3 separate regions of the Homo sapiens genome follow, and all the other regions are linked to region 3. Evidence: promoter capture Hi-C in human tissues and cell types (Jung and others, 2019). All regions are on one chromosome and are shown on one strand. Each heading gives the region's core, a stretch centred on a gene start or on the middle of the fragment in contact. The rest is flanking DNA. Distances are from core to core; before and after follow the strand shown.

Region 1 (4,808 bases), core at 365-2,864, 360 kb after region 3:
AAAGATAACCATTTTCAACAGAAAGACACAGATACCTTAAATAGAAAGGTATGGTGAAATATATGCCATTCTAGCCCTACTCAAAAGTATGGAACGGCTATATTAAATTCAGATAAATCAGGTTTTTTGGTTTATTTATTTATTTATTTATTTTTCGAGACAGGGTCTCTGGCACCCAGGCTGGGGTGCAGTGGTGTGATCACAGCAACCTGTGCCTCCCGAACTCAAGCAATCCTCCCACCTCATCTGGGACTACAGGCGTGTGCTACCATGCCTGGCTAATTTTTGTATTTATTTTTTGTAGAGACAGGGTCTCTCCATGTTGCTCAGCTGGTCTTGAGAACTCCTGGGCTCAAGTGATCCACCCATCTTGTCTTCCTGAGATGAATCACGAGGTCAGGAGATTGAGACCATCCTGGCTAGCATGGTGAAACCCCGTCTCTACTAAAAATATAAAAAATTAGCCAGGCGTGTTGGTGGGCACCTGTAGTCCCAGCTACTCGGGAGGCTGAGGCAGGAGAATGGCGTGAACCCGGGAGGCGGAGCTTGCAGTGAGCCGAGATGGCACCACTGCACTCCAGCCTGGGCGATGGAGCGAGACTCCATCTCAAAAAAAAAAAAAAATACACATTCAAAGTGGTAATTGACATAGATTAATATGTTCATATATATTGTTTGTTGTACTTGTGCTTTTTTTCTACTTGCTCTATTTTTCTGCCTTTTAATTGAGCGTTCTATATGATTCCATTTGCTTGCTTCTATTAGTGTAGTAAGTCTACTTGTTTCTTAAATTTTATTAGTGAATTCCATAGTTTGCAGTATACATTTGCAACTAATGGACTTTCATTTTCAAATAACACTATACTGGTGTCTGGGGTAGTGCCAATATGTTAAGAGTGTTCTGAATTCCTCTTTCCAATCCCATATAATATCACTGTCACGCATTTGACCTGTTAGAAGCTATAACCACCCAATACATTGTTGATATTCATTTGAACAAACATTTATCTATGAAGGAGAAGAAAAGATAATCATATTTGTGCCCTCATTTAATTATTTTCTAACAAGTTTTATTTCTGAAACATCTGCTTTCCTAACCTGTATCAGTTTCCTTCGCTCTGAAGAACTTTAACATGACTGGCAAGGCAGGTATACTAGTAACACATTCTCTCAATTTCTTTCCTCTTTCTTTTCCACAGACTGGTAATTTTTTTCTTTCTTTTTTTTTTTTTTTTTTTTTGAGATGGAGTTTCACTCTCGTTGCCCAGGCTGGTGTGCAATGGCGTAATCTCGGTTCACTGCTACCTCCACCTCCTTGGTTCAAGCTATTCTTCTACCTCAGCCTCCCAAGTAACTGGGATTACAGGCATGCACCACCACACCCAGCTAATTCTGTATTTTTAGTAGAGACAGGGTTTCTCCATGTTGGTCAGGCTGGTCTCGAACTCCCGACCTCAGGTGATCCACCCACCTGGACCTCCCAAAGTGCTGGGATTACAGGTGTGAGCCACCGCGCCTGGCCCAGACTGGATAATTTTAATTGTTTCATCTTCACAGTTGCTGATTCTTTGTTATGTTAGCAAGTAGTGAATTGGCTCACTTCCAGATGTACACACAAGCCAATAGCATGGCACCAGCTTTTGAAGAAAGAAAAGCTTTACTACAAGTTTGACTGGCAAGGAGAAAGGAAGAAATGCTCAAATATGTCTCCCTGAGCTGGGGGCTTTGGCAAGTTTTATAAGCGTGGGGTAATAAGACATGAACTCACTGCATCTTGCAATGATCTCATGCCAGGTTAATGTGACTCGATTGGATCCTGCCATGGGATGATACCGGGGCCCAACCTGATTAGATCCTAGATTCCACCATGTGGTATCTTTTTTTTTTTTTTTTTTTTGAGACAGAGCCTCACTCTGTAGCCCAAGCTGGAATGCAGTGGCATGATCTCGCTCACTGCAACCTTCACCTCTGGAGCTCAAGCAATTCTGCCTCAGCCTCCCAAGTAGCTGGGACTACAGGTGTGCGCCACCACACCTGGTTAATATTTTGTATCTTTCACAGAGACAGGGTTTTACCATGTTGCTCTGGGTGGTCTTGAACTCTTGAGCTCAGGCAATCCACCCACCTCAGCCTCCCAAAGTGCTGGGATTACAGGCATGAGTCACCGTGCCCAGCATCTACTTTTTACTTTAATCTCCACACCTCAGTCCAAGCATATAGGTTCCACCCATGGTTACACATTTGGTTCATCTGGGCATGCTCAGATTATGTGACCTTGAGTGTTGGGTCCATGGCAACTGAAAACTCAGCTTTGTTATATAGAAGTTGTACCACATAATCTGTTGTGGTTACAAATCCCTCCTATTATGTTCATTCCTAAGTCTTGAAGGAAAAGGAATGATAACTGCTCTAACTACTTTCTGCTGATTAGAGTCATAGACCTTAGAGGAATGAAAGTATTTAGTGCTTTGCTCTGGGAGTTCCCTGGTATCAGCCAGGTGCGGTGGCTCACGCCTGTAATCCCAGCACTTTGGGAGGCCGAGGCACGTAGATCACAAGGTCAGGTCGATTGAGACCATCTTGGCCAACAGGGTGAAACCCCATCTCTACTAAATGACAAAAAATTAGCTGGGCGTGGTGGTGCGCACCTGTCTCTCAGCCACTTGGGAGGCGGAGCTTGCAGTGAGCTGAGATCACGCCACTGCACTCCAGCCTGGGCAACAGAGCAAGACTCCGACTCAAAAAAAAAAAAAAAAAAAAAAAAAAAAAGGAGTTCCCTGGTATCAAGATCACATTTTAGAAGGCGTTATTTCTACATAGTTCTGGGGAAAAGGCATAAGGAGTTTGCAACCTAAACATTATTTGTTCCAGAGAACAAGGGAAAGCTTAGGTTTTATAGCAAAAGTTCCCATCTGGGTTCCTAGTCAAGTGCTTTTATGCAAATGAAGATCTGAAACTTGAAACTCAGTTCTGATTGGTTGATACAGCTGAGCTCTGATTGACTAGCTCAGGTGAGCCCCCAAAGTTAAAAAGGTGTTGGTTTTCAGGAAACTCACAGTGCTTGTGACCCCTAGTTAACAAGTGGCGGCTTAGCTCTTTTTAAAACTTAGGCCCAGTTAGCCAGTGTGAAGGACTGACTCTAACCCGTCCACAGACAGCATTCATAAGTTTTTGTGTGTGTTCTATCATGGTACCAGTGACCTGCTGTGGGTCCATCCCATGCAGGGATCCTAATGGCAGGGCAGTGGCCAGTTGGGCAACTATAGCCATTTACTTATAAGAGGTTCTCAGGAACCTGTTAAATTTTAGCCAAAATCTCTTGGGTTAAGTTGGTTTCAGTGGCCAGCTGGAGTGAGTTTAAAATCTCAAGTATTAGGTCAGCAAGAACCTAGTGGGGGTCTCTTGGAGGCATCTGTTGAAACAAGATAGAACAATTTTAAAGAGGAGCCAAATGCATATTTTAAATAGGATCATTGAGACTTGTAGGGCAGAATGGAGAAGAAATCCTATACCAGGGGAAGAGCCAGCTGAAAATATCTGGAAATTGGAAATGTAACCCAGTAAGTCTAGACAGGAGGGTTTCTGAAGGTGTCCCTTTCAGAGATTTGGCTGGTTTTAAGATCTTATATGTTCCCAATTCAGTCTGACTGGAAGTATTTTACCCAGATGCAGAAGCAAGGGTTAGCACAGACACTACCCTGTAAAGTAGGGAGATAGCTGCAATGTGGTTGTCTAGGGCCATGCAGGCAAGGGAACCTAGAGACTTCTCTTGTGTCCTGATGGCTTCGGTGGTGAAATGGGCAACTCTACTAATGATACAAGAAAGATTTCTGGTTAGATATCCATTCCAAGTAGAACCTAGACTTAACCATGACCCCAGAAACTTTCCTAATCTAGCTCCTCCACTAGGGTTAATCGCTCTGGGTAAACTGCATCCTTGATAATGTCCCCAACTAGAATCTGTGGGACCATCAATGCTTAAATATCTTTGACCCTCAAATTCCGTAGATCCAACATTTGTATTATTGATGAAAGAGTCAACATCTGCAGTCAGAAGTTGGTACCTCCAACATAGATGATACTTCTAATGTCCTGTCAGATGATTCTAGTTTAATTGACATCTCATTGCTTATCGACACTGCCACATATCTTGGCACCTCAACATGTTGCAACTTTAGGCACCACAGAGCAATCACCATCATCCTCATCATCATCATGTGTGGGCTACCAGGAGAAAATAACCAGGGTTTTACAGAAGGTTAACACACGCTTGCAGGTCATTTAATGAAACCAATCCATAACTGTTTTTTAAAAAGAAAATGTTATATTGTAGATGATGTGTACTAGGTAGGTAGCCGTATGGTGGTTGTGTCTGTACTGAATATGTACAGATGTTTTTTCTTGTCATACTTCCCTAAATACAATAAAACAGTTGTCTTCATAGCATTTACAATGCATTAGGTATTATAAGTAATCTAGAGATGATTTAAAGTATACAGGATTGCCTAGTTATAGGCAAATACACTTTTCTGTAAAGCACTTGAGCAAAATTATATATTCTCAAGGGGTGCTGGAACCAATCCCCTGAGAATACCAGGAAATGACTTTATTCAAGAGAAACTGAAACTACACAGGTTTTACCACATTCTTTACATTCATAGAGTTTCCTTTTGAGTAAATTCTTTCATGTATCTAAAACACACAAGGACTAATAAATACTTATCCACACTCCTTACAGTTATAAGGTCACCAGTGTGTCATACCCTGTGCCTTCCAAAGACTGGAAGAGAAAGGAAAGGTTCCCCATA
Region 2 (4,578 bases), core at 1,355-3,854, 260 kb before region 3:
CAAGCAGTGTGGGAAAGCGTTATCTCATAGCTCAAGCTTTCGAAGACATATGGTAATGCATACGGGAGATGGGCCGAATAAATGCAAGGTATGTGGGAAAGCCTTTGTTTATCCCAGTGTATGTCAAAGACATGAAAAGACTCACTGGAGAGAAACAATATGAATGTAAACTATTATAAAGCCTTCTATATTTCCAGTTCCCTTTGATATCATGAATAAACTTACACTGGACAGAAACCCTATAAATGTAAATGTGGGAAAGCCTTTCATAATTTTTATTCCTTTCAAAATCATGAAATATCTCACACTGGAGAGATGCTGTATGATATAAGGAATGTGGGAAAGTGATCGATTTTTTTTTAACACCATTGTCAACATAAAACAACTCACAGAGCAGAAAAACTCTGTGAGTGTAAAATATGTAGGGAAGCCTTCAGTCATTTTGGTAACTTAAAAGTACATGAGGCTGGGCACAGTGGCTCACGCCTGTAATCCCAGCACTTAGGGTGGGCAAATTGCTTGACCTCAGGAATTTGAGGCCTGCCTGGGCAAAATGGTGAAACCATGTCTCTACAAAAAATAGAAAAAGTAGCAGGTGTGGTGGTATGCCCCTGTAGTCCCAGCTACTTGGGAGGCTGAGGTGGGAAGATCTCTTGAGCCCAAGGGGTGGGGGTTGCAGTGAGCCAAGATGCACTGCACCCCAGCCTGGGCGACAGAGCCAGACCCTGTCTCAAAAAAAAAAAAAAAGTACATGAAAGGATTCACTCTGGAGAGAAGTCATATGAATGTAAGAAATGTAGAAAAGCATTGAGTTCTCTCAGGTCCTTGCATAGACATAAAAGGACTCACTGGAGAGATACTCTATAAATGTGTGAAATGTAGGGAAGTATTCTTTAATGTTATTTCATTTCAGATAGAAATAATTCTCATTGGAGATAAACCCTATGAATGTAAACACATAGTAAAGCCTTAATTTTAAGCCTCAGTTTCTTTCAAATACAGTTATCCCCTAATATTTGCAGGAGCGTGGTTCTACCACCCCCTGGGCATACATAAATCGACACATGCCAAGTCCTTTTTTAAAAATGACATATTTGGTACAAAATTACCCGGATGTGATGGCACATGCCTGTAATCCCAGCTACTCAGGAGGCTGAGGCAGGATAATCACTTGAATCCGGGAGGCGGAGGTTGCGGTGAGCCAAGATCGCGCCACTGCACTCCAGCCTGGGCAGCAAGAGCAAAACAACCTCTGTCACACACACAAAAAAAAAAAAAAAGGAAAGAAAGAAAAGACATATTTGGGTTAGACACAGTTGCTCACCTCTGTAATCCTAGCACCTTAGGAGCCCAAGACAGGTGGATCACTTGAGCCCAGGAGTTAGAGGCCAGCCTGGGTAATGTGGCAAAACCCTGTCTCTACAGAAGATACACAAATTAGCCAGGTGTGGTGACATGTACCTGTAGTCCCAGCTACTAGGGAAGCTGAGGTGGGAGGATCGCTTGAGCCTGGGAGGTTGAGGTTGCGGTGAGTCAAAATCACATCACTGCATTCTAGCATGGGCAACAGAATGAGACCCTGTCTCAAAAAAATAATAACAATAAAAAATATTTGCATGTAACCTACCCACATCCTCCTGTATACTCTAAATCATCTGTAGATTAGTTAAAATACATCATGCATCATAGAAGCTATGTAAATAGTTGTTATTATATTGTTTAGTGAATCATGATATGAGAAAGACCCTACACATATTCAGTACAGACCCACCCACATAATACATGTCACCTAGAGCATTATAAATCTTTTCTTTCAACACTCATAGATTGCTTTTGTTTAATGACCTGAAAATGTGTTAACATTCACCCAACAAAAGTGTAATGATGATTATTGCAATATCGTGCCTAATGTTGTGATGTGTTGAGTCAGCTAGATGTGTGACACCACAGATAAGCAGTGAGACCTCAGGCTAACTCGAATCTTGACAGGATGTCAACATGATCAACTATATTGGAAGAAACAGATTCTGACTGCAGATACTGAATTTTTGGAGCAGTCTAAATAATACTAATGTCAGAATCTGTTCAATTTGAGGACTGAAGATCTTTAAGCATTGAAGGCTGTCTTCATATTTGCAGATATTTAATTAGAAACATTGTAGGAAGCTAGTTTTTTTTTTTTTAAACTTTGCAACGTTTGTGAGCATGTAATCTCTGGGGTGACATGGAGGCTTTGTTCCATGGAAGAATCTTAATTGAGGATGATAATCTTTAACACTTGCGCCTTGTAGAAGCTGTAGGTGCCCTAAAACTGCTTCCAATTTTTCTTTTTTTTTCTTTTTCTTTTCTTTTTTTTTTTTTTTAAGACAAGATCTCACTCTGTCACCCTACAGTGCATGGCTCACTGCAGCCTCAACTTCCTGGGCTCAAGTGATCTTCCCACCTCAGCCTCCCAAGTAGCTGGGATTATAGGCACACATCACGATGCCTGGCTACTTTTTGTGTTTTTTGTGGAGACAAGGTTTCACCATGTTTCCCAGGCTGGTCTTGAACTCCTGGAATCAAGAGATCTGCCTGCCTTGGCCTCCCAAATTACTAGGATTACAGGGTGAGCCACCACACCCAGCCTTCAGATTTTTCAAGTATCAAAATCTATAGCACTGCTTCTTTTTTTTTTTTTCAGACAGAGTCTCACTCTGTCGCTGAGGCTGAAGTGCAGTGGTGCAATCTCAGCTCACTGCAGCCTCCACCTCCCAGGTTCAAGTGATCCTCCTGCATCAGCCACCTGAGGAGCTGGGATTACAATCTCAGCTCACTGCAACCTCCACCTCCCAAGTTCAAGTGATCCTCCTGCCTCAGCCACCCAAGTAGCTGGGAATACAGGCATGCACCACCATGCCCAGCTAATTTTTGTATTTTTAGTAGAGACAGGGTTTCGCCATGTTTGCCAAGCTGGTTTTGAACTCCCTGTGACTTCAAGTGATCTGCCTGCCTTGGCCTCTCAGAATGCTGGGATTACAGGCATGAGCCACCACTTATGGCACTGCCTCTTTATTTATTTATTGAGACTGAGTCTCACTCTGTCACCCAGGCTGGAGTGCAGTGGCACGATCTCGGCTCACTGCAAACACTGCCTCCTGGGTTCAAGCGATTCTCATGCCTCAGCCTCCCAAGTAGCTGGGATTACAGGTGCCCGCCACCACACCCAGCTAATTTTTGTATTTTTAGTAGAGACGGGGTTTCACCATGTTGGCCAGGCTGGTCTTAAACTCGTGACCTCAGGTGATTCACCCGCTTCGGCCTCCCAAACTGTTGGGATTACAGGCGTGAGCCACCACGCCTGGCGGCACTGCCTCTTCTAAATCTACATCATCATCATCATCATCTATAGAGGATTTCAGCATATCTTCTAGTTCCTTGTTAGTAAAGGTTTCTTCTTTGCTCTTCTGTGTGTTCCTCAACATTGTCTTCACTTGTGTCAGAGATAGCCTTCCCCACCAACTTTCCTTACATTTAAGATATTTCTGACTATCATATCGATAGTGCAGAAGCGCCTGAAATCATTGACTTCCTCACTCCATAATGGCTTCCAACACACTTTGGCTGTCTTGAGCTGTAGGGCATTTACAGCCTCCGCAATAAACACAATCGTTTCTGCAGTTGGGAAGCTCTTCCATAAATCCTGTATGACATGGTGAGGGTTATTATCAAGACAGCATAAATCCTTCCAAAAGTCCAGTGGGTGTAAGACACCTTGAGGCACTTGATGATGCTTTGATCAAGTAGTTGTAGCAGTGATGTAGTTTTAGGAGGCAGGAACATCACTTCCCCATTTTTATCGGCATAACAGAGAGAAGAGAGATGCCAGGAGCGTTGTCAGTTATGAGGAGGGCCTTGAGTGGCAGCCCCTTCTTTTCAAGGTATTCATTCACATCAGGAATGAAGCAGTGGTAGAACCAAGTCCTCGTGTGTTTTTGTCAGGACACGGGCAGGCAAGTTTCGCTTTTGTTTTCAAGGACCCACGGATTGTTTACTTAGTAGAGGAGGCTTTGTTTGATCTTATGACCTGCTGCATTGCCACGTAGCACCAGAGTAAGGCAATCTTTCCAAGTCATGAACCCCAAGGCTTTCTTTGTACTCTTGTGATGAAGGTACAATTGGGCATCCTCTTCCAGAACATGCCTGATTCATTACAATGGAGGATTTGCTCTGGAAGTTAGCCTCTTTTTTTTTTTTTTTTTTAATGAGTTTCATGAGCTTTTCTAGGAATGCTGATGTTTCCTTTGCATCAGCCAAGGCCAATTCTCCCATGTTCTTCAAGTTCTTGAAGCTCTAATGCATTGTGTAGCTAGCTAAGCCAGACCTTGCTGGCCTGAAACTCCTTCCTGTAGATCTTTTTTTTTTTTTTTGAGATGGAGTTTTGCTCTTGTTGCCCAGGCTGGAGTGCAATGGCGCTATCTTGGCTCACCACAATCTCTGCCTCCCAGGTTCAAGTGATTTCTTCTTCCTCAGCCTCCTGAGTAGCTGGGATTACAGGCATGTGCCACCACACCCAGCTAATTTTGTATTTTTAGTAGA
Region 3 (4,154 bases), core at 1,154-3,653:
TATACATTGTCAGGCAGACCATGCTGCTGCTCTGTCTATGGAGTAGCCATTCTTTTGTTTCTTTACTTCTGTAATAAACTTGCTTTTACTTTATGGACTCACCCTGAATTTGTTCTTACATGAGGTCCAAGAACTCTCTTTTGGGGTCTGGATTGGTACCCCTTTCTGGTAATAAGATTAAACTGACTCCAGGTGAGAGTTTCCCGCTAATGAAAATGAAGGTGTGGAGAGGAGGGGGAGTTTCCACACTGTGAGGAGAAGATGGGTGTATGTGAGGAAACCTTGGCCATGCCTCATCCCGATTCTTGCCCCACTGCAGGAGATCTGTCTCTCCCTCCTGGAGCAGTCATACATGGCCTTGTTCCCCTCCTGCCCTGAGACAAGGGGATGGCTTTGTGGGGGTGATAGACTCTTCGTGTCCTAAAGGTTTGCTGAAAACTAATTGATCTGAGGCAGATTGATTAATAGAAAAGAAGGCATGCAAATGTATTTAACATGTATACATGGGAACCTTCAGAATGAAGACACACCCAGCTATAAGACAGAGAAGATTATATAGCGACCTGAGGTCAGTAAATTAGGTTTAGTAGCAAGACAGCTTAGTAGACTGAGAAAGGAAGAGGCTTGGCTAGAGGTGGACTGTTACGTAGATGATGTCTCCCCCAGAGAATAGACTTTTTTCCTTTTTATGAGACAAGGTCTCACTCTGTCACCTAGGCTCGAGTGTAATGGTGCAATCTCTGCTCACTACAACCTCCGTCTTCTGGGTTCAAGCAATTGTCCTGCTTCAGCCCCCCGAATAGCTGGGATCACAGGTGTGTGCCACCAAACCCAGCTCATTTTTATATTTTTGGTAGAGATGGGATTTCGTCAAGTTGGCCAGGCTGGTCTCAAACTCCTGACCTCAAGTGATCCACCCACCTCGGCCTCCCAAAGTGCTGGGATTACAGGCATGAGCCACCATGCCTGGCCCTAATCTATTTACTTATCTTTTTGGTAGAGACCTGGTCTCACTGCGCCCGGCCACTGGTTTTTTGTTTTGTTTTGTTTTGTTTTTTTGAGACACAGTCTTGCTCTGTGGCCCAGGCTGGAGTACAGTGGTGCGATCTCTGCTCACTACAAGCTCCACCTCCCGTGTTCTCGCCATTCTCCTGCCTCAGCCTCCCGAGTAGCTGGGACTACAGGCGCCCACCACCACGCCCGGCTAATTTTTTTTTTGTATTTTTAGTAGAGACGGGGTTTCACCGTATTAGCCAGGATGGTCTCGATCTCCTGACCTCGTGATCCGCCCACCTCGGTCTCCCAAAGTGCTGGGATTACAGGCGTGAGCCACTGCGCCCGGCCAGCGCCCGGCCATTTAAAAAAATTTTAAATAATAAAGACAGGGATCGGCGGGCGAGGTGGCTCACGCCTGTAATCCCAGCACTTTAGGAGGCCGAGGCGGGCGGATCACCTGAGGTCGTGAGTTCGAGACCAGCCTGACCAACATGGAGAAACCCCGTCTCTACTAAAAATACAAAATTAGCGGGGCGTGGTGGCGCATGTCTGTAATCCCAGCTATTTGGGAGGCTGGGGCAGGAGAATCGCTTGAACCTGGGAGGCGGAGGTTGCAGTGAGCCAAGATCTCGTGCCACTGTGCTCCAGCCTGGGCGACAGATCGAGACTGTCTAAAAAAAAAAAAAAAAAAGAAAGAAAGACAGGGATCTCGCTGTGTTGATGATGTTGGCCTCAAACTCCTTGCTTCAAGGGATCCTTCCGCCTCAGTTTGCCAATGTGGTGGGATTATAGACATGAGTCACCATGTGCTACCTCTCTTCAGATTTTAAAGGTGTCAAACTCTCAATAGCTTTTAGATCAGGGAAAGGAAAAGAACGGGGGAGCTGGCAGTGCTTCATTAACGGAGATTCTCTACAAATGTAAATTTCCCCCTCAAAAGACAGTTTTGCAAGGCCACCTTTTGTTTGCTGGCCAAGCAGCAGCCATTTCAAAACTGTCAAAGAAATATATTTTGGCAGGGCAATATCTTGGGGCAAAATATTTTAATGTCTTTCACATTTTGTGGACACTGAATCTGGAATTCCCTGCACACTTGTGTCCCGTGTAGGATGAAGGGGCAGGGACGGCCCACGGAGTGAGGAAGACAACAGTGTCCCTTCTAGCAGTTCGGAGCAAGTTTGGCCGAAGGCAAATATTCGAAGTAAAGGTGGGAGGGAGGGAGGGAGCTGACCTTGGAAAGTGTGGCCAGAACCAGTCGCTTCGGCTCTGCAGCGCCCAGTTACCCGGGGCTTCTGCTGTCACTCAGGGAAGGGGGCGGAGTCTAGACCCCTATCCAATCAGGGGCGCTAGGGCGGGGCCCTGCCACTGTCCTCCAGGGAAGGGGAGGTTGCATTCCCGCTCTCTTCACTCCTAGGGCTGCTCGCGCTAGTTAAGGTCTGGGGCTTTCTTGCTCCGAGAGGGACCAGTTACTTCCGCCGTAGCTGCTGTTGCTCTGTCGACTGCGCTGTGACCTGCACTGTTCACGGGACCTTTAGAGAGGACGCCAGAATACCTGGAAGCCAGGAAATGGTGAGCATGCGGTGCTGGGGAGTCCCAAGGCGAAAGGAGGGACTGGGTGGAACCGAGAGGAACCCGCTGTGGCGGGGCCCGGGCCCCCCTGCAGCGACTCTGGGCTCCAGACACAGTCCCCCTAGCGCAGCTCGGCCCTCGGTCCCCTCGGCCGCTGGGTGGAGCTGGGCCGGCAGCCGGGACCCCGGGCGTCCTGTCCGGTCCCTGCGCGGCGACTGCGGCCCCGGCCCCGGCTCCCTCTCTGAGCAGCTCCGCGCCCGCAGCCCCGCGTCTCCCCAGATTGTGCGGTGACCATGGAAGGGTCATGGGGGATCCTGCCTCGGGTGTGGGGTTCGTGTGGGAGGAGCTGTGGGCTGTGGGGTCCCCAGTTCCTTTTTTTTTCCAGTTAAAAATTAAACTGAGGCACTGTTAAAAAATGAGAGTTTATTTTAGCAAACAGCGATTAATGAATGAGAAACTCCCAGTCCTGGCTTGTGGTTTGGTAACGGAAAAACCCAAATCGTGTAGAATAAGTTTATTCTGAGCCGAATAGGAGAGACCTCGGCTGAGGGAAACACAACCCCGCGAAGTCTGGAGTAAGCAATCCCGAGGCAGCTCCTGACAGTTTGGTTTTATTCATTTCAGGGAGACAGGAATTGCAGGAAAATGATGAATCAGTGCCGGGAAGGTGTAAGTTCCTTTGGCCGAAAGGCGGGACACATGGAAGCGGGGTTAGAAGGCACAGGTGGTGGAGGGATTCTGTAGGTGGCAGTTGGTTGAGAGTGTGTAAAGCTTTGTCTAAAATTTGGAGGCTGTAGGAAGGAGGGCTGTTATCTGCCACGTTATTCCATCCCAGTCCCCGCCCCCTTCCCCAAAAGACCTGTTTTTATTTTACCAGATTTTTATATTTTTGAGACGGAGTCTCGCTCCGTCGCCCCAGGCTGAAGTGCTGTGGCGCCATCTCGGCTCACTGCAACCTCCGCCTCCCGGGTTCAAGCGATTCTCTTGCCTCAGCCTCCCGAGTAGCTGGGACTACAGGCGCCAGCCACCACGCCCGGCTAATTTTTGTATTTTTAGTAGAAACGGGTTTCACCATATTGGCCAGGCTGGTCTTGAACTCCTCCTGACTTTGTGATCCGCCCACTTCGGCCTCCCAAGGTACTGGGATTACAGGCGTGAGCCACTGCGCCCGGCCAATTTTTGTATTTTTAGTAGAGACGGGGTTTCATGATATTGGCCAGGCTGGTCTCGAACTCCTGACCTCGTGATCCACCCTCCTCGGCCTCCCAAAGTGCTGGGATTACAGTGGAATGCCCCACTGCACTCCAGCCATGGTGAAAGAATGAGACTGTCTCAAAAAAAAAAAGTTAAGCTCCTTCTTATATAGGCAAAAAACAAAGAAATTTAATTATCGCAACAATTAGTACAACTAAATTAATTGTACAATTAATTTAATACAACTAATTAGTACAACTAAATTAATTATACAATTTAGTTACAGGTTTTTTTGTTTGTTTGTTTGAGACGGAGTTTCGCTCTTGTTGCCGAGACTGGAGTGCAATGGCGCAATCTCGGCTCACTGCAACCTCCGCCTCCCCGGTTCAAGCGAT

What was found. Contacts are between HindIII fragments. The study calls those that stand out against the background at their distance.
Region 1: a fragment that was not itself captured here is called in contact with the fragment with the promoter of ZNF878 in region 3 in 1 of the 25 tissues and cell types used here (lymphoblastoid cells).
Region 2: a contact is called between a fragment that was not itself captured here and the fragment with the promoter of ZNF878 in region 3, in 3 of the 25 tissues and cell types used here (hippocampus, mesenchymal stem cells and stomach).

What each region holds. Positions count from the first base shown.
Region 1 is chr19:11,686,021-11,690,828 of GRCh38, reverse strand. It overlaps the pseudogene ZNF833P. Among named protein-coding and RNA genes, the nearest start is that of ZNF823, 51 kb to the left of the region's middle. The HindIII fragment of the contact is 6,716 bases long and covers 1-4,808 here.
Region 2 is chr19:12,314,179-12,318,756 of GRCh38, reverse strand. It overlaps ZNF563 (zinc finger protein 563), which reads left to right. Exons shown (of 4, transcript NM_145276.3): 4 at 1-1,280. The coding sequence ends at 163. Among named protein-coding and RNA genes, the nearest start is that of ZNF563, 17 kb to the left of the region's middle. The HindIII fragment of the contact is 6,161 bases long and covers 1-4,578 here.
Region 3 is chr19:12,051,210-12,055,363 of GRCh38, reverse strand. ZNF878 (zinc finger protein 878) reads left to right here and starts at 2,403. Exons shown (of 4, transcript NM_001080404.3): 1 at 2,403-2,565. The coding sequence starts at 2,563. RefSeq lists an enhancer at 2,064-2,569 and a silencer at 2,758-2,807. The HindIII fragment of the contact is 7,236 bases long and covers 1-4,154 here.